Regions from separate parts of the Homo sapiens genome. Here all the other regions are linked to region 7. Evidence: promoter capture Hi-C in 16 types of primary human blood cells and fetal thymus (Javierre and others, 2016). All regions are on one chromosome and are shown on one strand. The core of a region is centred on a gene start or on the middle of the fragment in contact, and the rest is flanking DNA. Distances in the headings are between cores, read along the strand shown.

What was found. The method cuts DNA at HindIII sites, captures the fragments that hold promoters and counts their contacts. A CHiCAGO score of 5 or more calls a contact.
Region 1: a fragment that was not itself captured here is called in contact with the fragment with the promoter of RPP30 in region 7 in 1 of 17 cell types (total B cells); the score reaches 6.2 in total B cells.
Region 2: a fragment that was not itself captured here is called in contact with the fragment with the promoter of RPP30 in region 7 in 2 of 17 cell types (M2 macrophages and naive CD8 T cells); the score reaches 5.1 in M2 macrophages.
Region 3: a contact is called between the fragment with the promoter of IFIT1 here and the fragment with the promoter of RPP30 in region 7, in 1 of 17 cell types (non-activated CD4 T cells). The highest score is 5.1, in non-activated CD4 T cells.
Region 4: the fragment with the promoter of KIF20B here is called in contact with the fragment with the promoter of RPP30 in region 7 in 13 of 17 cell types (total CD8 T cells, naive CD8 T cells, naive CD4 T cells and 10 more); the score reaches 8.9 in total CD8 T cells.
Region 5: a fragment that was not itself captured here is called in contact with the fragment with the promoter of RPP30 in region 7 in 2 of 17 cell types (total B cells and naive B cells); the score reaches 6.9 in total B cells.
Region 6: a contact is called between the fragment with the promoter of PANK1 here and the fragment with the promoter of RPP30 in region 7, in 8 of 17 cell types (M2 macrophages, M0 macrophages, non-activated CD4 T cells and 5 more). The highest score is 12.3, in M2 macrophages.

Annotation. Positions count from the first base shown.
Region 1 is chr10:89,740,301-89,743,639 of GRCh38, forward strand. The region is part of intron 21 of KIF20B (kinesin family member 20B); the gene reads left to right. Among named protein-coding and RNA genes, the nearest start is that of KIF20B, 40 kb to the left of the region's middle. RefSeq lists an enhancer at 784-1,285. The HindIII fragment of the contact is 847 bases long and covers 1,481-2,327 here.
Region 2 is chr10:89,717,780-89,721,000 of GRCh38, forward strand. KIF20B (kinesin family member 20B) reads left to right here. Exons shown (of 33, transcript NM_001284259.2): 12 at 931-1,093; 13 at 1,640-1,927. Among named protein-coding and RNA genes, the nearest start is that of KIF20B, 18 kb to the left of the region's middle. The HindIII fragment of the contact is 2,350 bases long and covers 199-2,548 here.
Region 3 is chr10:89,391,238-89,394,751 of GRCh38, forward strand. IFIT1 (interferon induced protein with tetratricopeptide repeats 1) reads left to right here and starts at 1,386. Exons shown (of 2, transcript NM_001548.5): 1 at 1,386-1,480. The coding sequence starts at 1,476. It also overlaps a transcript of LIPA not described here. RefSeq lists a silencer at 221-382 and enhancers at 935-984, 1,215-1,264, 2,066-2,115. The HindIII fragment of the contact is 1,915 bases long and covers 1-1,700 here.
Region 4 is chr10:89,699,984-89,703,229 of GRCh38, forward strand. It overlaps KIF20B (kinesin family member 20B), which reads left to right and starts at 1,607. Exons shown (of 33, transcript NM_001284259.2): 1 at 1,607-1,697. RefSeq lists a silencer at 1,129-1,208 and enhancers at 1,253-1,768, 1,769-2,285. The HindIII fragment of the contact is 4,302 bases long and covers 1,110-3,246 here.
Region 5 is chr10:89,758,250-89,761,750 of GRCh38, forward strand. KIF20B (kinesin family member 20B) reads left to right here. Exons shown (of 33, transcript NM_001284259.2): 27 at 457-633; 28 at 2,277-2,387. Among named protein-coding and RNA genes, the nearest start is that of KIF20B, 58 kb to the left of the region's middle. The HindIII fragment of the contact is 3,836 bases long and covers 1-3,194 here.
Region 6 is chr10:89,643,271-89,646,775 of GRCh38, forward strand. PANK1 (pantothenate kinase 1) reads right to left here and starts at 1,972. Exons shown (of 7, transcript NM_148977.3): 1 at 1,330-1,972. The coding sequence starts at 1,621. It overlaps PANK1-AS1 (PANK1 antisense RNA 1), which reads left to right and starts at 844. Exons shown (of 5, transcript NR_184344.1): 1 at 844-929. RefSeq lists silencers at 746-795, 1,496-1,975. The HindIII fragment of the contact is 3,186 bases long and covers 1,085-3,505 here.
Region 7 is chr10:90,870,296-90,873,776 of GRCh38, forward strand. RPP30 (ribonuclease P/MRP subunit p30) reads left to right here and starts at 1,679. Exons shown (of 11, transcript NM_006413.5): 1 at 1,679-1,773. The coding sequence starts at 1,692. RefSeq lists enhancers at 1,517-1,811, 1,530-1,799, 1,930-1,989. The HindIII fragment of the contact is 10,238 bases long and covers 1-2,090 here.

The sequences.
Region 1 (3,339 bases), core at 654-3,153, 1.1 Mb before region 7:
TTATAAAGGATACAACTCAAGAACAGACAAATAGAAGGGATACACAGGACAGATTAAGGGGGACAGAGGGTGGTGCAGAGCTTCTGTGCCCTCTCTGGGTGTACCACCCTCCTAAGACCTCAGTGTGCTCACCAAGTGGGACACTCTCTGAACCTCACTGTACAATAGTTCTCATGACTCAATCTCCAACCCTCCTCTCTTCCACAGAGTTTGGTGGGTGGGACTGAAATTTCCAACTCTAATCATTTTTGGTCTTTTGGTGAGTAGCCCTACCCTTAAGCTATTTCAAAGGAGCCTCCACTCAAAGCTATTTCATTAGCATAAATTCAGGTGTGATTAAAAGGGGGCTCTTTTTTCTAAGTTTATTTATTTTGTTTTGGGACAGGGTCTTACTCTGTCACCCAATCTGGAGTGCAGTGGCGTGATCATAGCTCACTGTAACTTTGAACTCCTGGGCTCAAGTGATCCTCCCATCTCAGCCTCCCTAGTAGCTGAGACTACAGGTGTGCCACCATGCCCTAGCTCCTTTTAAATTTATTGTATTGTTAAAGTCTTTTTTATTGCTACTTATAGAGGTATCTCTTTTCAAGTATAGATAGCAGTCCCCAGCCTTTTTGGTACCAGTGATTGGTTTTGTGGAAGACAATTTTTCCATGGACCAGGGTAGGGGCTGGCTGCTTTAAGGATGATTCAAACACATTACAGTTATTGTGCACTTTATATTATTATTACATTGTAATATATAATGAAGCAATTATACAATTCACCATAATGTAGAATCAGTGGGAGCCCTGAGCTTGTTTTCCTACAACTAGACGGTCCCATCTGGGGGTGATGGGAGACAGTGGCAGATCAGCAGGCATTAGATTCTCATAAGGAATGCACAACCTAGGTTCATTGCATGCAGAGTTCACAATAGGGTTTGCACTCCTATGAGAATCTAATGCCTCTGTTGATCTGACAGTAGGCGGAGCTCAGGCGGTAATGTGAGTGATGGGGAGTGGCTGTAAATACAGATGAAGCTTCACTCCCTTGTCTGCCGCTCACCTCCTGCTGTGTGGCCCAGTTCCTAACAAGCTATGGATCAGTATTTGTCTGTGGCCAGGTGGTTGAGGCTCCCTCCTCATATAGATGACTATTTAACATTACTCTAATGATGGGTATTAAAAGTATTTTCTATTTCTCAAATGTGTAGTTTTAAAGCAAATAATAATAATTATAGCAATTTAATCTAGGCCAGCTGCTATGCTGAGTTGACATATTATCTTAATCCTCACACAATATCGGGTATAGACACTGTTTTTAACTTCCATTTTGTTGATAAGAAAACAGACATTGAGGGATACAGTAGTCTCCCTTTACTGGCAGTTTTGCTTTCTGTGGTTTCAGTTACCTGTGGCCAACCATGAGCTGAAAATACTAAATAGAAATTCCAGGAATAAACAGTTCAATTGCAGGTCATTCTGAGTAGTGGGTCAAAAGCTTGTGCCATCCTGTCCTGCCTGGAGTTAGAATTATCCCTTTGCCTAGCATATCCACATTGTTAGTGCTACCTATTAATCACTTAGTCATCTCAATTATCAGATCACGTGTCATGGTATCAGGGACAGTGTTTGTGTTCAAGTAACTTTTATTTTACTTAATAATGGTCTCAACATGCAAAAGTAGTGATGCTGGCAATTCAGATAAGCCAAAATGTTGTTGTAAAGGGCTTCCTTTAAATGAAAAGGTAAAAGTTCTTAACTTAATAAATAAAGAAAAAAAATTGTAATCTGAGGTTGCTAAGATCTATGGTAAGAACAAATCTTCCATCTGTGAAATTGCGAAGAAGAAAAAAGAAATTTATGTTAGTTTTGCTGGTGCACCTCACTGCAAAAGTTATGGCCACAATTCATGATAATTGCTTAGCTAAGATGGAAAAAGCATTAAATTTGTGGGTGGAGGATGCAAACAGAAGTGTGTTTCGATTGATGGTGTCTGGGTTCAATACTGTCCACTGGGGATCTTGAAATACTATCCAATGTTTCAGGTATCCACTGGCGATCTTGAAACATATCCCCTGTGGATAAGGGGGAACTTGTCCTTGTCTAAGTTCACTTGTCTTAGTCTTAATAAGACTTGTCTAAGTTCACTCAGTAGTAAGTGCTAGAGCCAGAATGGAAACCGAGGCAGTCCTTACATGCATCTTTGTGCAGCACATAGCCTCTATTATTGTTAGTTATATAGTTGATGAAGATGGTGTTTATTACTTGAAGCCTCATTTTTTTAAACAAAATTAGCAAATATTATGAATATGTGATTATCATGTATGTATTATTGGAACATAAAGCTTAAAACAATGTAAGAATCCTCTGAAACCATACCACTCTGAGCTACTATAATAAGGGCATCTTCAAGCCTTTTTTTTTTTTTTTTTTTGGGCGGAGTCTCACTCTGTTGCCCAGGCTGGAGTGCAGTGGCGTGATCTCGGCTCACTGCAACCTCCACCTCCCGGGTTCAAGCAATTCTTCTGCCTCAGTCTCCCGAGTAGCTGGGACTACAGGCACGTGCCACCATGCCCGGCTAATGTTTTTTGTATTTTTAGTAGAGATGGGGTTTCACTGTGTTAGCCAGGATGGTCTCGATCTCCTGACCTCGTGATCCACTTGCCTCCGCCTCCCAGAGTGCTGGTATTACAGGCATGAGCCACCATGCCCGGCCTTCTCTATGCTTTTTATGGGGCATCTTTTCATTTAATTTCCTTCCGTTTTTGAGCTCTCTAGCGAGTGTGAAAATGGAGTTTTGGCAGTAAAGCTCCACAAGGGAATAGAAGAGAAGGCTCTGCTGCCAGTTAGATAACTTCCCTCTGGAAATCCTGGCAAGATGTACTGAAAGGTTTCAGAGGGGGTTGGTATGATGGAAACTAGTATAAGGATGTACCTATATTAGCTTTTTTGGGTGAGAAATTAATATATATATTAGTCCATAGTACCTCGATTTCCCTACGTTTATGGCATTAGATTACCGGCAACAGCAGAAATCAATTGACCTTCACTTGCGTGGGTACCTTTTGATTTTGTGATTGTTCCATTTTCTTCCCTGCATGTCATTATTAGCTTTTAAAGTTTTTCTTGTATTCCTGGATTATATTACTCAATAAACTTTGGAAATTTGAATCAGTATTTTTCTCTCAGAATATCTTTATTGATTTTTCCTTGGTAATTATTTCCCTATTATGTATAGATGTTATGATAATTCTTTTTTGAGAGAACTTAAAAAGTTTGAGATTCTTAAATAATGGAACAAGAAATTGAGTTTTTCATATGCATTCTTCATTAGAGTATTAAAACATTTTCTAAT
Region 2 (3,221 bases), core at 124-2,623, 1.2 Mb before region 7:
ACTTTTTTGTTTTTAGAAAGTTCTTTTTTGATTTTTAAACTGCTTCTTATGTAATGACTGTGTATAGATTGTGATTCAAGTACTTAAGAGATCTTGGATTAAAGACAATGATAGAAATGTCAGTTGATGCCAGTAACTCATCAGGTAAAGTCAGTATTTTCCATGGCAAATCTATACCAATAGACACTGTAAATGAGAAGCTTCTAATGCTGGTTTAGGATCTAAAACCACTTTATTCTTATTAATGCATTGTGTGTGGTTCTAGATGCAATAGATTTTTACATTAATTAGCATTTTAGGCTGAGTAAATATAAATCAGCCTTCACCATTTCTATTTAGGGTGTTTCATGACATCTCTTATATACTTGCTCTATACTAGGGAACATAACCCAGTTAAATGTGGTTTTCTTTATAATTTACATAGTGGGTTATTGTTAGTAAGTAGCAGCAGTTAAAACAAACAGCCAGGCATGGTGGCTTATGCCTGTAATCCCAGCACTTTTGGAGGCCGAGGCAGGAGGATTGCTTGAGCCCAGGAGTTCAAGACCAGCCTCATCTCTACTAAAAATAAAAATAAAAAAATTAACCAGGTGTGGTGGCAGGCACCTGTAATCCCTGCTACCCTGGAGGCAGAGGCGAGAGGATCGCTTGAGCCTAAGATGTTGAGGCTACAGTGAGCTCTGATTGTGCCACTGTACTCCAGTCTGGGCAACCGAGCTAGACCCTGTCTCAAAACAGAAACAAAAACAAAAACAAACAAGAAAAGATAAAAAGAAAACTGAGAAGGACTATTACATCTGAAACTAATCACTACCCTAAAGTTTAATTTCATGATAGGTGGCTTAATTATTTCTTTGTAAAATGTCTCAGCACCCTGATTTCATGAGATGTTTTTTAACTTACAATGTTTTCTGAAAATTTTTTCTGTAGGTTTCAACAGCATGTGCCTTTCCGGGAAAGTAAACTGACTCACTATTTTCAAAGTTTTTTTAATGGTAAAGGGAAAATTTGTATGATTGTCAATATCAGCCAATGTTATTTAGCCTATGATGAAACACTCAATGTATTGAAGTTCTCCGCCATTGCACAAAAAGTAAATATTTATTTTATTAAGCCTCTTATTATTAGAATATTAACAGTTTTTCTTGAAATAAATATTTTTTACTTAATACTGTAAGCCTAGGAAATAATTGAAAATTAAAAAGGTAAATATTTAACCAAGTAGGAAGACATGAGAAAGGATTGAAAGTTGCCCATGCTAGGATTAAAATGACCTTTAGTAATAAGAATTAGTAATAAACATCAGTTATAAATTAATGAGTATTTTTGGAATGAATTGTCTGCTCTGCCATTCATCTTGTTCATTTGGTACTTCTGGGTGATTGGAAAACCCTCTGCTAAGATTAATACTGAACACTTAGCCCAGGAAGATAGATTTTTCCTCTAGTTTACATGTGTAAGTAGCTTTTTTCCTATCAGAATGTTCTTTTAGGGATGGTGATTCCTGTTTGTATGTTTGTTTGAATAGTTTTTCCTTAACACTTGAGTGTTCATTTGACTTAAATTTATAAAATAATCATTTTCTAGTGGACAGTTCTTGTCTTTTCTGTTTTAAAAGTCACATTGAATATTTTAACAGGTTTGTGTCCCAGACACTTTAAATTCCTCTCAAGAGAAATTATTTGGACCTGTCAAATCTTCTCAAGATGTATCACTAGACAGTAATTCAAACAGTAAAATATTAAATGTAAAAAGAGCCACCATTTCATGGGAAAATAGTCTAGAAGATTTGATGGAAGACGAGGATTTGGTTGAGGAGCTAGAAAACGCTGAAGAAACTCAAAATGTGGAAACTAAACTTCTTGATGAAGATCTAGATAAAACATTAGAGGAAAATAAGGCTTTCATTAGCCACGAGGAGAAAAGAGTATGTATTAAGAACTCATACTTCTATGCTTGTCTTCTTATTCTGAAGTTAAGGTTAAATCTTAAGGCTCTCTCTCTTCAGTTTTTTTCAACAGTACACTGAAGTTTTTGTGTTCAACTTTATATTTTGAAAAATTTCAAACCTATAGAAAGACTAGTACAATGAATACTCATTTATCCTTCACCTGGATTCTCCACTTACCATTTTATGAGTATGTGAATACACATCTTTTGGTCTGTACAATTTGAAAATAAGATCCAGACATAATGACACCTTACATCTAAATATTTGAACATATTTTTCTAAGAACATGGGCATTTTCATCATGATCACAAGACCATGAAATTTTCATACCCAAAAAATTTAATATTGATACACTAATATAACCTCGTATACTGTTTGTATTGAGAGTTCCCCAGTGTTCCAAATATGTTCTTTATAGCCACTTTGTTTTTGTCTACAGCCAGAGTTAACACATTGCTTTTGATTATTGTGTTTCTTTAATCATTTCTAATCTAGCACTGACATTTTTGAAAAGTGGGTCCTAGTTTTCTCATAGAATACCTGCAATTTAGATTTGTTTGATTATTTCTTCATGATTTAGGTTTAATACATTAGGGAAGCTTTTTATGTAGGTTAAGTTGTAAATTTTCCATTGCATCACACCAAGAGCCACATGATGTCTGATTTTTCCATTCTTAGAGATGCTAAGTTTTGCTCACTTGGTTAAGATAACAGTATTTCAGATCTGTATTGCAAAACCATATTATCTGTGGGGTGTTACTTATAGACCATGTGAGTATCCTTTCACTAAGTGATTTTATGTATTCCATCAGACCTTTATTTTGCAGTCTCAAGTACAAGTGTTAAAAATATCTACCAAGTACCTATGATCCCATATCTTCAAAAACACTAATTGTTTGTCGTCTTGTTATTATGATAAATAAATAAGATTTAACGGTTGTTTTTTTAGCTTCTGTCCAATTATAGTATTTATTTATTTATTTATTTATTTTTGAGAGAGGGTCTTGCCCTGTTGCCCAGGCTAGAGTGCAATGGCACGATCTCGGCTTACTGCAACCTCTGCCTCCTGGGTTCAAGCGATTCTCCTGCCTCAGCCTCCTGAGTAGCTGGGAGTATAGGCATGCGTAACCATACCCAGTTAAGTTTTTTTTGTATCTTTAGTAGAGATGGGGTTTCACCATGTTGGCCAGGCTGGTCTCGAACTCCTGACCTTGCGATTGCCCGCCTCGGCCTCCCAAAGTGCTGGGATTATAGGCATGAGCCACCTTAC
Region 3 (3,514 bases), core at 136-2,635, 1.5 Mb before region 7:
GGGGCTCACTCTGTTGCCCAGGCTGGAGTGCAGTGGTGTGACCATGGCTCACTGCAGCCTCTACCTCCTGGGCTCAAGTGAGCCTCCCACCTCAGCCTCCTGAGTAGCTGAGACCACAGACACACACCACCACACCCAGCTTTTTTTTTCAGTTTTTTTGTAGAGTTGGGGTCTCCCTATGTTGTCCAGGCTGGTCTACAATTCCTGGGCTCAAGTGATCCTCCCGCCTTGCCTTCCAAAATACTGGGACTTACAGGCCTGAGCCAATGCACCCGGACAACAATTTTTTATTTTTTATTTATTTATTTTTTTAGACGGAGTCTCGCTCTGTCACCAGACTGGAGTACAGTGGTGTGATCTCGGCTCACTGCAACCTCTGCCTCCCAGGTTCAAGCAATTCCCCTGCCTCAGCCTCTCGAGTAGGTGGGACTACAGGTGCACACCACCACACCCAGCTAATTTTTTGTATTTTAGTAGAGAGGGGGTTTCACCATGTTGGCCACGATGGTCTCCATCTCCTGACCTTGTCATCCGCCCACCTTGGCCTCCCAAAGTGCTGGGACTACAGGCATGAGCCACCGCACCCAGCCAAGAATCATTATTTTTAACTTGATGACTGAAAATAATAATAATAATAGTTACCACTTATTTGCATGCTTCTATGTGCCAGGTAGTTGCTAACTATTTAAACTCAAATTCCATGAACTGTAGTGGAGGTTGTACTGGAATTTGATTCAGAATGACAGTGTCCATGATGGAGCAATAGAGGGCTCTCTATTTCAAACCATACCTCCTTGCTTTTACCTCCTGCCTAAGTCATCAGGGGTTAGAAGGCTTTCTAGGTATTGGTCTCTTTCCTTCATTCCTAAACCAGATTGGTTGCTTATTTCCGTCAAGCTGAAACCAAAAGTAAGCAACCAAAAAGCAACCAGCAACCAAAAGCCTTGTTACTCAATTAATTAAGAGTAGATTTTTATATTTGATAGTAGGTTCCTTCTAAATATAGAAACTGAAAATAGAGCTATCTCCTTCAATTCTCCTTTTTCTGTGTATTCATCCAGAATCCAGCCACCAACTGCCACAATAGGCAGCAATGGACTGATGTTCTTTAGGGAGGACGTGAATCTCGTTCCAAATGCTGGCCAGTCATTGGGTTTCTGCAGCACTAGAAACATCTATGGTTGCAGGTCTGCAGTTTATCTGTTTTAAAATAGAAACAAAGTTTCATTCCCCACCCCCCCCCGTCAGCAGGAATTCCGCTAGCTTTAGTTTCACTTTCCCCTTTCGGTTTCCCTAGGTTTCCAACTTGCAAGGACACACCCACAGCTTACACCATTGGCTGCTGTTTAGCTCCCTTATATAACACTGTCTTGGGGTTTAAACGTAACTGAAAATCCACAAGACAGAATAGCCAGATCTCAGAGGAGCCTGGCTAAGCAAAACCCTGCAGAACGGCTGCCTAATTTACAGCAACCATGAGGTAAGGATTTCTTTGCTCCTCTGCCATAATGTCTAAAGTTTTTGAAAAAATGGTAATTAAATACTATTTCAACAGGTTAGATCTCAGTGAGGTCAGGTTTTCTAATTCCTCGATTTGAGTATCTGCTTATGGACTGAATGTGTGCATGCATGTGTGTGCACGTTCACACATACATAAATTGTTTAATGCATTTTTATGTTTGTTAGCATGAACTTGAGGAAGCTTACCTCATGCTATAGCCCAAAGAAGGGGAGGGAAATGGGAAAAGAGTTTTGCAGGAAGGGAGAAAATGATCCCAATCTGAGAGATTCTTTCCCATCAGATTCACTTCTGTCTGATATGGGGAAGGAATGGACAGCTTGTCTGAGTAGAGGCATTGCTTTCTGCAGGTTCTTTACCACAGAGAAAAAGCAGGACCCACAAGAATGTGAAAGCCTCAGTCTTGCAGCCTCTCTGATGTCTTGTGGGTAATACAGTGGAGATGTGGTAGGAAAAGCTCACAGCCTTCCTCCATAGGCTTCTGGTCTCACTTTCTGCACTGCTGGCCTCTTACAACAGGTTTTCGCAATCAGGCTGAGCTTAAGATAAACAGATTGCCTCCTCCCTGGAAAATCTAGGCTCTTGGTACGTCCTTGACTGAAGATGATCCACATCTGCTTGGGAAGATCCGTATCTTCCTTACCTAAAGGGCCTAATGTGGGAATTTCTCAGCTGATTTAAAAACCATTACTTAGGCCGGGCAAGGGGGCTCATGCTTGTAATCCCAGCACTTTGGGAGGCCAAGGTGAGCAGATCGCCTGAGGTCAGGAGTTGGAGCCCATCCTGGCCAACATGGTGAAACCCCATCTCTACTAAAAATACAAAAATTTGGGCATGGTGGCACATGCCTGTAGTCCCAGCTACTTGGGAGGCTGAGGCAGGAGAATCACTTGAACCTGGGAGGCGTAAGTTGCAGTGAGCTGAGATTGTACCACTGCACTCCAGCCTGGGCAACAGAGCGAGACTCCGTCTCAAAAACAAACAAACAAACAAAAAATCCATTACTTAATACTGATTTGTAAATTTTCCCCTCAGTGCTCCAGTTGGCAAAATTTTGAAGAGGTAAAAATTCCAGAAAATGCACATTACAGGCCTATGATGAACCCTCCTCTGTAAACAGATGGAGTTGGTACTGATAATTAAAATAATAATAATATTAAATGTTATAAAGGTAGTTATCACTTCTTGAATTCGTATTAAGTGACAGCCTGGCTTCTAAAAGTGTTATGTAAATTATTCCATTTAATTCTCAAAAGATACTTATAAGGCAGGTACTTACACAGTCATGCATCGTGTAACAATGGGGATACACTCTGAGAAATGCAGCTGTTAGGCAATTTCATCATTATGCAAACATCAAACCTAGACGGTATAGCCTACTACACACCTAGGCTATAAACCTGTGCAGCATGTTACTGTACTGAATACTGTAGGCAACTGCAATACAATGGCAAGTATTTGTTTATCTAAACATATTTAAACATAGAGTACAGCAAAATTGTGGCATTAAAATCTTATAGGACCACCACCAAATATGTGGTCCTTTGTGGACTAAAATATCATTATGCAGTGCATGGCTGTATGATCCTGATTTTACAATAAGGAATCTTAGATTTAGAAATGTTAAGATCACACAGACAATAAGTGGTAGCTTTGAGATATGGATCAGGATCTCTACATTCAATGATATTTCATTAAACCTTTAAATCAATGTTTCCCAAAGGGTGTCAGTGGGGGCTCATGTGATTATTTCAGATGGCAAACTCATTTGCTTTTATGTTTTCCTGCTTTTATGTTTATGTCAATATGTACTACAGGAAAATATATATATATATATATATATATATATATATATATATATATATATATATAAAACTTGAATTTTATTCAGGTTAGCAATGTGATTTTTTATTGTGATAAAATACATGTAAAATAAAATTTATCATTTTAATTACTTTAAAGTATACAATTTAGTAGTATTTAGTATATTCATGA
Region 4 (3,246 bases), core at 357-2,856, 1.2 Mb before region 7:
ACAACAATTGCTAGTTGTAAAAAGTATAAAAATGAAATTGAACCTGCAAATAAAAAAAGAGTGCTCACTTGAGATACAGTAGCCAGGAAAGTCTTCTTTAAGAAGGTACTATTTTAGACGTAACCTAAATGATGAAGGGAAGTGCCACGTGTTGAATGGAGAAGAGAGAATTTAGGTACAGGGAACAACCCATGCAAAGGTTCATACATGCTGGAAAGAAGTTGGTGTTTGAGGTATCCAGAGCAGATCAACTTACTGTACAGTTAGTGGGGAGTGAGGTCGGCTGACACTTGATTGTGCAGGACCTGGGAGGCCATGGTAAAGATCAGAATTCTATTCCTTTTCCCCCCTCCTCTTTTTATTTTATAAAATCTGTTATTTTAGAAAGTTGCAAGACTGGTACGATGTACACCATTATACCCTTCAACTAGATTCACCAATTACTAATATTTTGCCACATTTGCTTTCTCTATTTTTTTGCCATATCTTTTGAAGGTAAGCCGCAAACACTGTGACACTTTGCTGCTAATTACTTTAGCAAGCGCCTTCCAAAAACAAAGGCATTCTTCCACTTAATCACAAATTAATTCTCACATGCAATCAATTTAAAACTGATTCAATATCATCTAATATGTAGTTCATATTTAAATTTCCCCAGTTGTCCACAAATGTCTTTCGAAGTTTTTTTTTTTTTTTAAAAACTATGAACCAGCCAAGATTCACAAATTTCATTTGGTTTCTTTTGACTCTCGACTAAAGTAATTTTCCACTTCGTTTTTTTCTTTTTCCTGTCATGACACTGACATTTTTGAAGAGCCTAGGCCTGTTGTCTTGTAGAATATTCTACATTGTTTTTTTCTGATTGTTTCCTCATGATTAATGTCAAACATTTCTAGCACAAATACTATCGGGTGATATTAGCGATGCTAAGTATCTTCACTTGGTTAAGGTATGTCTAATAAATCTCTTCAGTGTAAAATTCTATTTTCCCTTTATAATAAGAAATGATCTGTAGGGTGATTCTTTGAGATACTAACATCCTCTTCCCTACAACCTTTCAGTTAATTGTTTGTTTTAGCATCTTGCATTCATTAGTTTTAGCATTCATAAGCTTACCTATATCAATTTTTAGACTGGCAGTTGCACAATGGGGATGCAGCGAGGGAAGTGACCCTCCGGATCCCGGGATGCCGAGCCTTTTTCTGCCCCGTAGGGACAGGACTGGGAAGTGGCTAGCCCGCCATTCCTCGGCCCGTCCTTAGGGGAGTCGCAGGACTAAGTGCAGTGGCAGTGGCCTCACCTCGGGCCTTCGCCACATCTTTATTGCCTCAAGGACAGAATTGGAGATCGGTGTCCCAGTCAACAGCGTGGTACTTATGACAGCCGCGAGAAAGCGCACTACTAAAGCCCGGCTAGCAGAGCTGGGAGGCAAACCAGACCGTCAGCACCAGGGCGGCCCACGCCTGCTTCCGCCCATTGGCTGCCCGCGTTTCAAGACCCGCCCCCATATTGGAGAGCTTCTTCCGGTAGCCACTGGAAAGCCCGCAGCGCGAGCCGGCTACGCTCCCTGGCGGAGCTCTGGACGCCCCACCTACTCCCAGCGTTCAGTGCGGTGCCCTGGCCGCCATTGTTTGAATTTGAAAACGGTAACATCGCAGTGCTGCTCGCGGGTCTGGCTAGTCAGGCGAAGTTTGCAGGTGAGGAGGTGACCCGCGGGAATGTGTGGGGAAGGAGGTGGGTGACTGCGCATGTATGGGGCCTAAGGTGGGGAAACGGCTTTGGCAATGTGGACATGTTCCGACAGGGCTCATACCCCAGTGGAGGTTACTGTCAGGAACTGGGTTGCGGAGCGATGCGAACACGGGGTACGCAGCGAGGAATGAGTCATACTAATTCGGTTACGGTTTAAATCTCGCCTCCACTGCTAATTAGCTGAGTGACGCAAGACAATTCATTTAATCTCTCTCTGTACCTTAGTTTTCTTATCAGTTAAAAGGCTGCAATGAAGTGTCTATTTCTTTCGGCTTTTGTGAAGATTAAATGGTAATGTGTAAAGTTATTAGTGCTGGCACACAGTAGGTACTAAATGTTTGCAGTTATTAATATTATTATTGTTGTTGCTTCTGTTGTTGTTGAGGAACAGGCCTGTTTTGCCACACCTAGTTTTCTGAAGCTCTGAGGTGAGCAGTTTGCTCGGCTGGTAGGTAACACGGCCTTTTTGCGGGGGGAGCCCTGTGGTAGCCTCTGTGCACTTATTTCCAGACTACTCCTACTGGTCCTTGGGGCTTGCCCTTCTAGGGTTTTGCAGTGCCAGGCTGAAGAGTTTGTGGCACAGTGACTGCTGTCATTCCCCAGTTTAGAAGGCTTTCTCCATCTCGATTCGCTCGCTGGTTCAGTGATGCATGTCTGGCACAGTTCTCTTATATTTCTTGCTAAACTACTAGTTTACAGAAGTTCACGCCTTATGGGTTAGGTAGTGTAACAGTGTATTTATCTTACATGTCCAAGACTCCAGATTTTAAATTGTAAAAATAACATAAAATACTCATCGATTAGTTGTGAAGACTTTTTTTGAGGCTTTGTGTTGTAGACCACATTCAGAAACCTCATTCAGCAACAGATTCTGCTATTTTTCACCAAAGTCTCCAATTGTGGATTCTTATTGGAGAGAGGGTAAATATGCAGTTTTCCAGTCAGAGCAGCCTTTTGAAATGAAAAATGAGGTCTTGGAGCCTGCTGTCACGAAAGATAATATTACAGACTAGGACCGACTTTTTTTTTTTTTTTTGGAATAGTATTTTCTTTATAACCATTATTTTAAGTCATTAGGTAGTCTTTATCCCTGCATAAGTCGCTGAATTTGTTATAGGGGATACAGAGTGGTATAAGGCAAGGTTCTTGCCATCAAGAAGTTTCCAGTTTAGTTGGGAAGGCCACGTATAAGTAGAAGTCATCTAAAATCGCAAGAAGTTACAGTAAGTCTGAACACTTTTAGAAATGCTAGGAAGTAGTTTGTTCATTGAAAAATGAGCATATGAACAAATACTTTATTATAACTGCTTTTAGTACATAGGAATATTCTTTTTAATTCAGCAATTTAAAAGATTTATCAACACTTTTCTTTAAACCAAAAATTATTATTTGAAGCCACAGGTGTTTTTTAGTTTTCTGGGCATTTCCATGAACTCTGTGTTATGAAATGTCAGGCCGGTACTTTAACGTTTTGCAGATGCTCCCCCCTCTGCA
Region 5 (3,501 bases), core at 27-2,526, 1.1 Mb before region 7:
GGTGTTCTTTAATCTCTTTCAGCAGTATTTTATGGTTTTATACATTTTCTTTATCAGTATTTCATGATTTTTGAACCTATTGTAAATGGTCTTGTTTTCTGTTTTCATTTTTCTGTTGTTTGTTGCTATTACTGTAATTTTACCCACTAATTTTCCAAACGTTGGCAGAAATGTTGATACTAGTTTGAAAGCTATAGCTGTAATTGTGTATTGAAAGAAGTTACCAGTAAGCTGATTTTTGGAATGAGATGGGATATGGATAAAAATAACATGGACATTTAATTTATAAAATGATATGTGTTGTTTTATAGTTAAATATTTTATCTAGACTACTTAATTTGTCTTGTAATCTTGTTTGCAGCTATATTTATGGTGTTACATATAATAATTTCTAAACATTCTTAGATTCATAATATATCAAGGTTGATTTTAATATTTTCTTTATTTCCTGATTAGGAAATACTGACAGCCCAGCTGACAGAGAAAGATAGTGACCTTCAAAAGTGGCGAGAAGAACGAGATCAACTGGTTGCAGCTTTAGAAATACAGCTAAAAGCACTGATATCCAGTAATGTACAGAAAGATAATGAAATTGAACAACTAAAAAGGATCATATCAGAGACTTCTAAAATAGTCAGTAGTCTTTTTTGCTATGCCTTTTTAATTGAACATAGTAATTACTTAATTGACTAACTCTTAAAGAATAAAAAAGTGTAAGTCTCAATAGACCAAAAAGGAATCAGAGTATTTAAAATGTGGAAATTTTTCATGATTTAGAGTCTTGAAATTTATCATTAAGATTGATTTGTCAATCAATGACTGAGATGTAGCATTTTCTCCAATATTTTGGTTATATCTCTCAGTAATTAGAAAATATTAGTATTTCTAATTACTTTGGTAGAGTAATTAGAAAATCAACAATTTATGGTTTAGTCCCCAGTCTGCGTTTAAAATATGGAAATGTGATTCAACATGAACTCTTGGTGATTTTGAATACTTGGGCCCATCCTTAACTTTATTTTATAAAGATACAAATTATTTTGAAAGTAAGCCTAATGGTAGAGAGACATTATGAGTCATTCAGCTGTTACTTTTATATTACCTTGAGACTGGAAATCCTGAAAGAGGAGAGAATTGCCTTTTACAGATAGCTGCTTCCCAGTAAATAGAATCTGGGTACATCTGAAGCTAGTCTTTCTGGAATAATCTGTACTTAAAAATCTTCTGCTTTAAAGCCTTCAGACAATAGGAAAAATATGTATGTGTGTGTCACATCAAAAGACTATTATTGTAAGAGAGATTACTTGCTTTAAAAAGAGGTAGTATTGTGTTGTTTAATAATATATCCTAGAAAGTCAGAAAAACTAGGTATCAACTGCTGTCGCTGTGGTTTTGGGACCTTTGAGAAGAATTACTTAACATTTCTGATCTTTATCTAAAACAGGTAATAGTGTTTTCCTAACAGAGTTGTGAAATTAATGAAGATTGTAAAACAAGTAGCACAGTTCTTACTCCAGTGGAAATCAATATATGCTAGTTACTTTCCCTTTTATGAATTCAGTAGAGTCTTTCTTATTTGGCAGTAATGGGGAGGTGACATAAGAGGTTTACTTGACTTTTGATTTTGATGGCTGTGATGAGGAGGTCTGTGTTACAGTTTATTAAGTTTAAAAATGTAATCTATTTCTTTATAAATCGCCTAAGTAGAGTTTAGAAATAGAACTTTATGACTGAGAAAATAGGAGGAAGAATGTGCTGCAAGAAAAGATTTAGTTTTCCTTATGGTCTTTTGTACTGTAATGCTATAGTTGCATTCCTGAGAAGCCTCCAGTTTTTCAAAATTGTGTTATCAAAAGCAACTGTTGGGATACTGAGCAATTCTAACTCAGTACAGACCTTGACCATGCCATTTAACGTGTGTCGTTCTCTATTTCCTCATCTGGAAAGTAGGAATAATGATTTTTGCCAGACCTACCTGCAGAGTTGCGATGAAAGTAAAGCAAGAGAATGTGGGCAGAACACTTGGAAGTTGCAAGCAGTCTTTCAAATTTCTCCTTAGATCAGAGTCAATAAACTGGAAAGTGACCCAGCCTTTCCTGAGTATCTGAGGTTGAAAGAGAAATAGGAGGGCTAGGTGGTAATTAAAGGTGTCTTTACTTAGTAATTTCCATTGTTTAGTTTCATACAAATCTTGATTTTATATTCTTTATGTGAAGTTTTCTTCAATATATTTTCAGGTTACAATGCCCTGTTGCTTTAATATTTCCTTACTTTAGGAAACACAAATCATGGATATCAAGCCCAAACGTATTAGTTCAGCAGATCCTGACAAACTTCAAACTGAACCTCTATCGACAAGTTTTGAAATTTCCAGAAATAAAATAGAGGTGGGTATTTGGCAGCACAGTCCACTTATTTATTCTCTTTATCCACTATTACTAAATAACACGTACAAGTAAGTTGCTGAAGATACCTTACTGCACAATTAGCTGTGTGTGCTCTGGGCTGTGTGAAAGAAACTAGAGGCTTTTGAGGAGAGGTGAAATTCTTTTGGGAGATTATATGCCCAAATGATGTTAATCTCATCTTAAAAGCAGTAGATTTGTTAATAGAAACAAACTTGATGGTCAGAAATAGGAAATCCTACTAATGAGAAAATAGGGATAATTTGCTCTCATAAAAGGTTGCTTTAATAAACATTGTGTTAAATAGTATTTTTTGGAATTGTATCCATTTAGTAGCTTTGTCACCAGTCTTCAATAACAACTCGTGAGTTTCCTTAATTTGTATTGGGCTTAGGGTTCTGTGAATAACTTTGGATAATATAGAGATTCTTAGGTTGGATATGAAATAGATAAAAATTCTATGTTACTTAAAATTTTTGAAGATAAAATTACTTTTTAAATTTCTTTTTAAAACACATTTATTGGGAGCATTCAGAGTTGGGAACCTTTTTAAGCACTGAGGATACGAACATCAATAAGACATGATTGTCATCCTCAAGGAGTGAAGAATCTAGTAAGGTAGATACATAAGTGAATGACTTGTTTGATTTTACTTCATGGGCTAAGTGTTATAGTAGAAATATAAAGTGAGTACTCCAAGGAACACTGAGGAAGATGAAATGAATTTTGCCTGAGTGTTTGTGGAAATGGATTAAAGAAGGTGATACCATATTGTATCTTATGAATGGAAGCTTATTAAGCAGACAATGAGAAGGAAAAGTCTTAAAAAAAAAAAAAAGAAATGGGGTTTCACTATGTTTCTCTGGCAGCTGAACTTGAACTCCCAGGCTCAAGCAGTCCTCCTGCCTCAGCCTCCTGAGTAGCTGGGACTACAGGCATGTGCCACCATGGCCAACTGAGAAGGACATTTTAATCTGGGAAAATAACATGAGCCATTCATTTTCTCTTGGTTTTTCCTTGACAGTTCTTAGTAGTTTCAAATAATTAGCACTAACCTTGGGGACTAATACAAATCATAAATTTCACAGAAAAGTTT
Region 6 (3,505 bases), core at 722-3,221, 1.2 Mb before region 7:
AAGTCCTGACTTTTAAAATATTAATACTAATGAAAGTCATTTTCTAACAAGTATCAAAAACAAAAGCAAATAAAAATTCAGGTGCTAGATTACAACCTTACACCTTACAACTGTAGCCAAATCTGCTGTTTGGCTTTAAAGTTCCACACAAAATCTTAACCTACAAATTTAACATTTCAAACCCACAAAATACAAGTACCAGAGTCACCCACAGTCATGTCAAAGGGCTTTCCAAGGTCTTAGAAACCTTAATCCAATACAGAAAAGCTAAGAGTCAAAAAGACATAGAAACAGGGAAAAGTGAAGGTGTTATTTGCCAAACATTAAACTTTCACAGAAATCCAAAACCTACTTAACAATTTCCCTATATCGAACAGCATAACCTCTATGCAAATGCAGTCATTTATTAGCATTTACTGTACTTACTTTGCTTTTTGCCATTTATAAGCTTCATTAAAGACACCCACAAAGAAGTAACCAGTTGAATGAGCTTCAGTCAAGAAAAACCAGCTGTAAACTCGACCTACAAATTTACATCCCACAGCGTCCTGTGGGGAAGGTACACTTTACAAACTACCATTATATATACAAGCTTTAGATTGTGAAATAATGCACTTCGGCTTTCTCCGGTGTACATTACAATTACAAACCCTCAACTCAACCTCCCCCTTCGTTGAAAAAAAAAATCCACCTCCAATCCTCATTGGTCCACATAGTTCCGGCCCACATGGTATCAGTGGGTGTGTCCCTCCCAAAAAACCCTCTCATTGGCCGTGAAGAAACAGCTTCTAATAGGCTGTGATTTTGGGGGGTAGTTAAACTCCACGCCTCCAGACTTGCGCTCTCCAATAGACCCGAGACGCTGCTGGCTACTCTGTGATTCAAAGGGCAGGCAACCCCAGTAGGACGCGCTCAGAGAAGCGAGAGGGGTGAGAAAGGAGAGAGCACCCTCGGTGTGCCGCCCACTTTATCCTCACTCCTGGACCCCAGCAAATGTTCACACACCTGCGTTTTCCCAGCCACCAATTAGAAGGGCGGACAGAGCGTTCGCTTATTATATATCCTTGACCTAGGGACCCGCTCAAGCTTCGTGTCCAATCCTCGTTCTACTGATAGAAGCGAGCAAAGGGCAGGCTCAGGCAAAGACCTGTAGTGCTTGATGTCCCCTAGGAAAAGAATCAGTCCCGGGAACCTACTCTGTGCAGTCCCTCGACCGCAGACGCGGGGGCGCACGGGGCGTGCTGCGGCGCCTGCCTCAGCCGCTCCCAGTCCCGGGCCCCGCACGCTGCGTCTGCCTTGCGCCCGCGCTCCCCTCCCAGCGGGACTTACGCGGCCTGTTCTTTCTCCCCGAGTCCATCCTCCTCCGCAGCCGGCATTTCTTGGCCGGGGAGTCATGCTGAGGGAGCAGTGGCTGCGGCTGCAGCTCCGGCAGGAGCGGGAGGCGCTGGGGCGCCGCGTCGCTGCCGCCCACTGGACCCCGGCTGCAGACGTGCGGCGGCTGGACTGGCGGCGGATGGAAGCCGTTGTGCAGCAGCCCGTTCACAGCGGCGGCGCTGGTGCCCACGGGGGCCCCTGGAGAGTGCGGGACCGAGCGCTCCTGCTGCCCGCTGCGGTCGCCCATGCCGGGGGCTGGCGGGGCTGTGCGCGGGCCCCGGCTCAGGCGGCCTCGCTGGAGGTCATTCTCCGGCGTCTTTATTTCCCCGGATCCTCCCTGCGGCTTCCGATTCAGCAGCCGCAGAGCCGGCGCCTGGGGATGGCGAACCCGGCGCTCCTCCCCTCCTCCTGCCGACTCCCCCACCTCCTCTGCGCCCTGCCCCCCGCGCGCCGGCCCCACGGCGCCGGCCTGGAGCACGCCAGCCCCGGGCGCGGAATCGGGGATCCCCGCGCACCCCCAGCCGGGGCTCCCGCCGCCCGCCTTCCCCTGATCCCCAGGCCGCGCGACTTCAAACGCGGCTTCCTCGCCTCCCAGACTGGTCCCCGCCACTGAGCATGCCCAGTCCTGCCCGCCACCGCCACCGACGAGTTTCAACATGGGGAATCAAGTTCTCTGGGCTTGCAGAGAGGAGATGGGCGGGTTGGGCTTTGTATGGCGATGTGAAAACCAGATGGGTCTGGGAGAGACAGCGAAAGGAGCGAACCGTTTCAGGAGGAATACGGGAGGAAGACAATTATTTGCAGAGGTGTCAGGTTTGCTAATCCTGTCCCCAGTGAGCAAGATACCTTTGCAAGGTCATTCACGTTACCCTCCCCGCTTTGTGAGTGTGTGCTTACGCGCGCGCGCGTGTGTGCCTGTGCGTTTGGTTAAGTGACCAAACTACTTAGAGGCCTGAGGGGAGGGAGAACAATTATTTATAGAAAAGTTGGCAGACTTGGGGAGGGAGGGGAGTGAAATTTCTTTGCTGGCACGCACACACACTCAAACACCATGTGGTCTCATGGAGTTGTCTTTTGCAGGGAGGAAACCTAGGAATACAGTGTAAGGACAGTGAAGGACAAAACTGTAGGCAGGATTAATCGGTGCTGAAAGAGATCAAGTAAACAGGAGCAATTCCATGCTATAAAAAGCACTTTCCTCACCCAGAAAGGACTTCAAAAGACAATGTCATGTTATTTATAGAGTAAGGAGTTGCCTCTTCTAAGAAGGGAAGGCGGCATCACGTGGTGACCAGCACTACGAGCTTTGGAGTTAGCACTGGGTTCAAATTCCAACTCAGCCACTGAGCAAACCCAGATAACGTTAATGCTCAAGGTAACACTTCTAGCAATAGGAAACGGGACTGTCCATGCTCACTATGCAGGACTAATTTGGGTGGTGAATACCTTCCCAAAGTTATGCAATCTCTTGAGGCCTCACTTTCCTATCCATAATGGGGCTGTTGTGAGAAAATCTACTAAAAGTACCTGGTACAATCCTGGCACACAGTAAATGCTCAGAAAGCTAGTTTTCCTTATTACGCTATTATGATTAGCAGTTCACCCTTTGTTTCGACAGGGGAACAAACCATGCTTACAGCCGTATTTATTGTGTGATTTATTTTGTGATATTCTCCGTGATTTGCAATTAATCTACAGAGGAGTCAGAGTCTGGCAGGTGCTGGCTGGCTACTGGGTTGCTGGGCCCCTGGGCTTCAGTGCATTCAGCAGCATCTAGGGCTTGCATCTGGCAATTCCTTCCAGCAGAGCCTTACCTAGAATCAGAGCTTGAGAACCATGGGGGCCACTGGAGCACTCTGGTCTATCCACTCTTGCATACTTTTTTCGTATCAGGAAACTGAGCTGCAGACAGATGGCTGAGGTTATTAAGAGCAAAGGTGGGACTAAACTCCAAATCTCAACTCTCTTAGCTTCCCTAACCTTATGCTATTTAAAGACAGAGAAAAAAACCCAGGTGATCTGGCCCCTCCCTACCTCTCCTGCCTCATCAGGGGCTCCCTGTGCTGCCTTCAATTCCTTAAACAACATTCTGCTGTTTCCATTGCCTTAGAGAAGTCTCTTCTCTAAGACC
Region 7 (3,481 bases), core at 429-2,928:
AATTGAACTATCACCTTATTCACCTTCACCACACATTGGTCATATTTCTGACCAATCTAGATTGTTATGGTCATAGGTGATGATGCCTGTGTGACCCTGCAAAATTAACACTAGATATTCTCATGAAAAACAAAGCGTTTGCTTCATATGACCTTATTCTATTTGCAGAAGTAATATTCTCTTCTACTCCCACTTAGGAAATATCAAGTACTGGAAAAGGCAAAATATCTCTTCTTTACAAAAGTTAACCAAGAAGAGAATTGCATGCTACTGCATGGAACAGATCCTTCCTCCCTTCTGAGACCGACAAGAAAATCGCATAAAGGAGTACTAGTTAAGGTGTGGTCCATAGACGAGAGACTATCTGTGAACTGTTTGTGATCAGTAAATAAGAGAAATTGATGGGTGAAGCATGTGGGTGGGCTCCTGTAATCACAGCTAGGAGAGAGGATTGCTTGCGTTAGAGTCCATCCTGGTCAATAACGAGATACTCTCTCTAAAAACAAAACAAAACGAAACGAAAACTCAGCAGGCCACCAACTAGGATACTCCCTAGGTCAAATGACCGAGCCTCTAATTCTGTGATTGTTGTTGCTGTGCGCACGTTAATAAAACAAACAAACAAACAAAAAGTGAAGATGTTTAGAAAGTTTACAGTACTTTGGCATTGTCCTGATAATCCAAGCTCCTGATCAGCAGATTCTATTCAGCCAGGTATAGGGCAGTTCGAGTGTTGTCAAATTTGTGATTCCCATGAGGCCAGGCTGCTTACTGGTAATGCATAAAGGACCACATCCTGGTTCGCGAAGAGTTTGGGGGTAGAGGAAAAGGAGGGAGAAACTGATCCTTCATCACAGGTAGTTTGAGAGCACTGATGTAAACTATAGTCACACTTTTGTAGTATAATTGATTATTATCCTCAATAGATCATTTACACTAAGTCGGAAAAAAGTGGAAACATCAGATATGTGGGATATGCGTCACCTTGTACATTTCTCAGCTGGAAAAGTGTAAAACATCTCAATTTTGCACCTCCCTTTTCAAACATGTCTTTGGCTAAATCAATGTTGGCTCTAACCGCTCGTCCTAGAGCGAGTCCCGCCATCTTGTGGTTGAAGATGTTGACTGCCACAGAGAATAGCGGGCTTTGACATCAACAGTTCTGATTGGGTAAAAAGACCCTCGTCTTGGGGTAGTTCTCTTTTGAAGTCCTAGAGTCCGTCACACACAAACGCCTTCTTCCCGGTAAGTCCATTGTAAACAACGGAATGGACTTTAGGGAAAGGAAAGGAAAACGTGTTCTTTAAGACTCTTTAAATAGCGTTTTCACCCATTAGCAGAATTCTCTGATTCATGAGCAGCACTAAGTAGATACCGTGTGCGTGCATTTTGAATGAATTCATTTCTACACTATTTTATAGGAGTATTGAATAGTTGGGAATTGGAACCCCTCCAGGGGGAACCAAACATTGTCGTTCAGAAGAAGACAAAGAGAGATTGAAATGAAGCTGTTGATTTCAACACACAAATTCTGGTGGTAGATGAAAGCAAAGCAAGTAAGTTTCTCCGAATCCCTAGTCAACTGGAGGTAGAGACGGACTGCGCAGGTTAACTACAGCTCCCAGCATGCCTGAGGGGCGGGCTCAGCGGCTGCGCAGACTGGCGCGCGCGGACGGTCATGGGACTTCAGCATGGCGGTGTTTGCAGATTTGGACCTGCGAGCGGGTTCTGACCTGAAGGCTCTGCGCGGACTTGTGGAGACAGCCGCTCACCGTGAGTTGCCCCGGCTTCGCGCCTGGCCAACCTCATGCCACCCAGACCATCGGGCCACACTCCGGAGTAACTATTTCCTGATGGGTCTCGGTCAGGTCTCCCAGAGTCTCTGGGATGTCCCTGGAGGCTGATGCCCGCCGAGGTGTTGGTCTGATTCCTAGCGCGGGAAACTCGAAGGTTCTGGGGGTTGTTATCTGGTTCAGCTACTTTCCTGCAATGAGGGAACTGAGGCCTAACGAGGGCGAGGGATTTGCATAGGGGCCTACAGCTGATAGGTGACAGAAGCCGGAGCTGGACTCCAAGGGTACAATCTTCTAAGCTTCTAAGTTACTATCAGCCCTTCCTGATTCTCACGACAGTGTCTAAACAAATACTGGAATTTGGGGCACGGACAGGAAGCGCCGTGGAGGCTCGGAGAAGGAGGAGGACGTGGGAGTGTTGGAACAATACTATCTAGACAGAGAGAGGGTAGGTGGGGGCAGAGGACATACACAGCGGAGTGGAGGTGGAGGAGGAGGATAGCATGGCCCAAATCGAAGGGAAGCGAAAGCCTTGAGAGACGAGAACCTGTTTTAACTATTGGAGTTAGTCATGGGTTCTGTATTCCGTAGACTGTAAAGTGTTGGAATAGAGAGATTAAAAAGAATCAAGAGGTTCGTGTAGTAACATCTGCTCCTCAGAGACAGTTTTCAGCTCATTGTGAGTTCTGATTACTGATACTGTTCAGAGGTGGTGCTAGAAATGACAACCACTTCTTGGCAAAGTGAATCACACCACTTTTTTATTGTTCTCTTTATGAAGTATCCGTGGCGAAATGACTGTCCCTTTCCACTGCTGCCACTAAATGAACGTTATCTCTGTGGTACTTTGCTCATCAGCACGAAGACGAAAGTAGACATGATGATCTGGGCCATTTGGCGCTAATGTTCTTTGATCCTGTAAAATAAGTTTTCCTAGGTGTAGTTTGTCGCAATTATTACCTCCTCAATGAGGCTTTTCCTGACGCCATCCCATTTTTGAATAAATCATGAGCTTCCTAAGAGAATTGCCATGTCTTATCCTTTTATTTACTGTGCTTAACACGTTCACTCTGCAGGCACCAGTACATGGCAGTTACTCAGTTAATGCTTGTGGAATAAACTGAACACATTAAAAAAATTAATACAAAAAAGAAAAGTTAATAATGATTTCTTTAGAGAATTTCCCCCAGTTTAAAATACACTTGGAAGAGGTGTGGTAATATATGTACATTGTTAGTGGTTATTTGTTTGTAAATTAAATGGAATTCATGGCATATAAAGTTGCCTCAACTTACAAGTCAAAGACAAAGGACTGCTCTGCTATTTGATGAGTCTGGAACTAAATAGTGGACATTTGCAAAGAATAGGAAAGACAGAGCCCTGGTTCTCAGTTTCTGATGTGATACAAGAAACCAATAATAAGCTTCAGAAATATACTGTGTAAATTAAAATACCCTAAAGCCTGATTGGGGAAGTAAGTACTCCTAAGCTGCCAGATGAGGAGTAGTCTAGGAAAAAGTTTTGTGGAGAAACAGATCCTAGTTGACATTTCTGTAGAACGGTAGGGACATTGTTTAGTAGCCAAAAGGATATCCTAAATGGGTATAACAAGGAAGTTTAGAGCAGATTTGGGAGTGTGGTAAAGAAGAATAGGGAGGAGGTGTGGCTGGTTGATTTGACTAACTGGG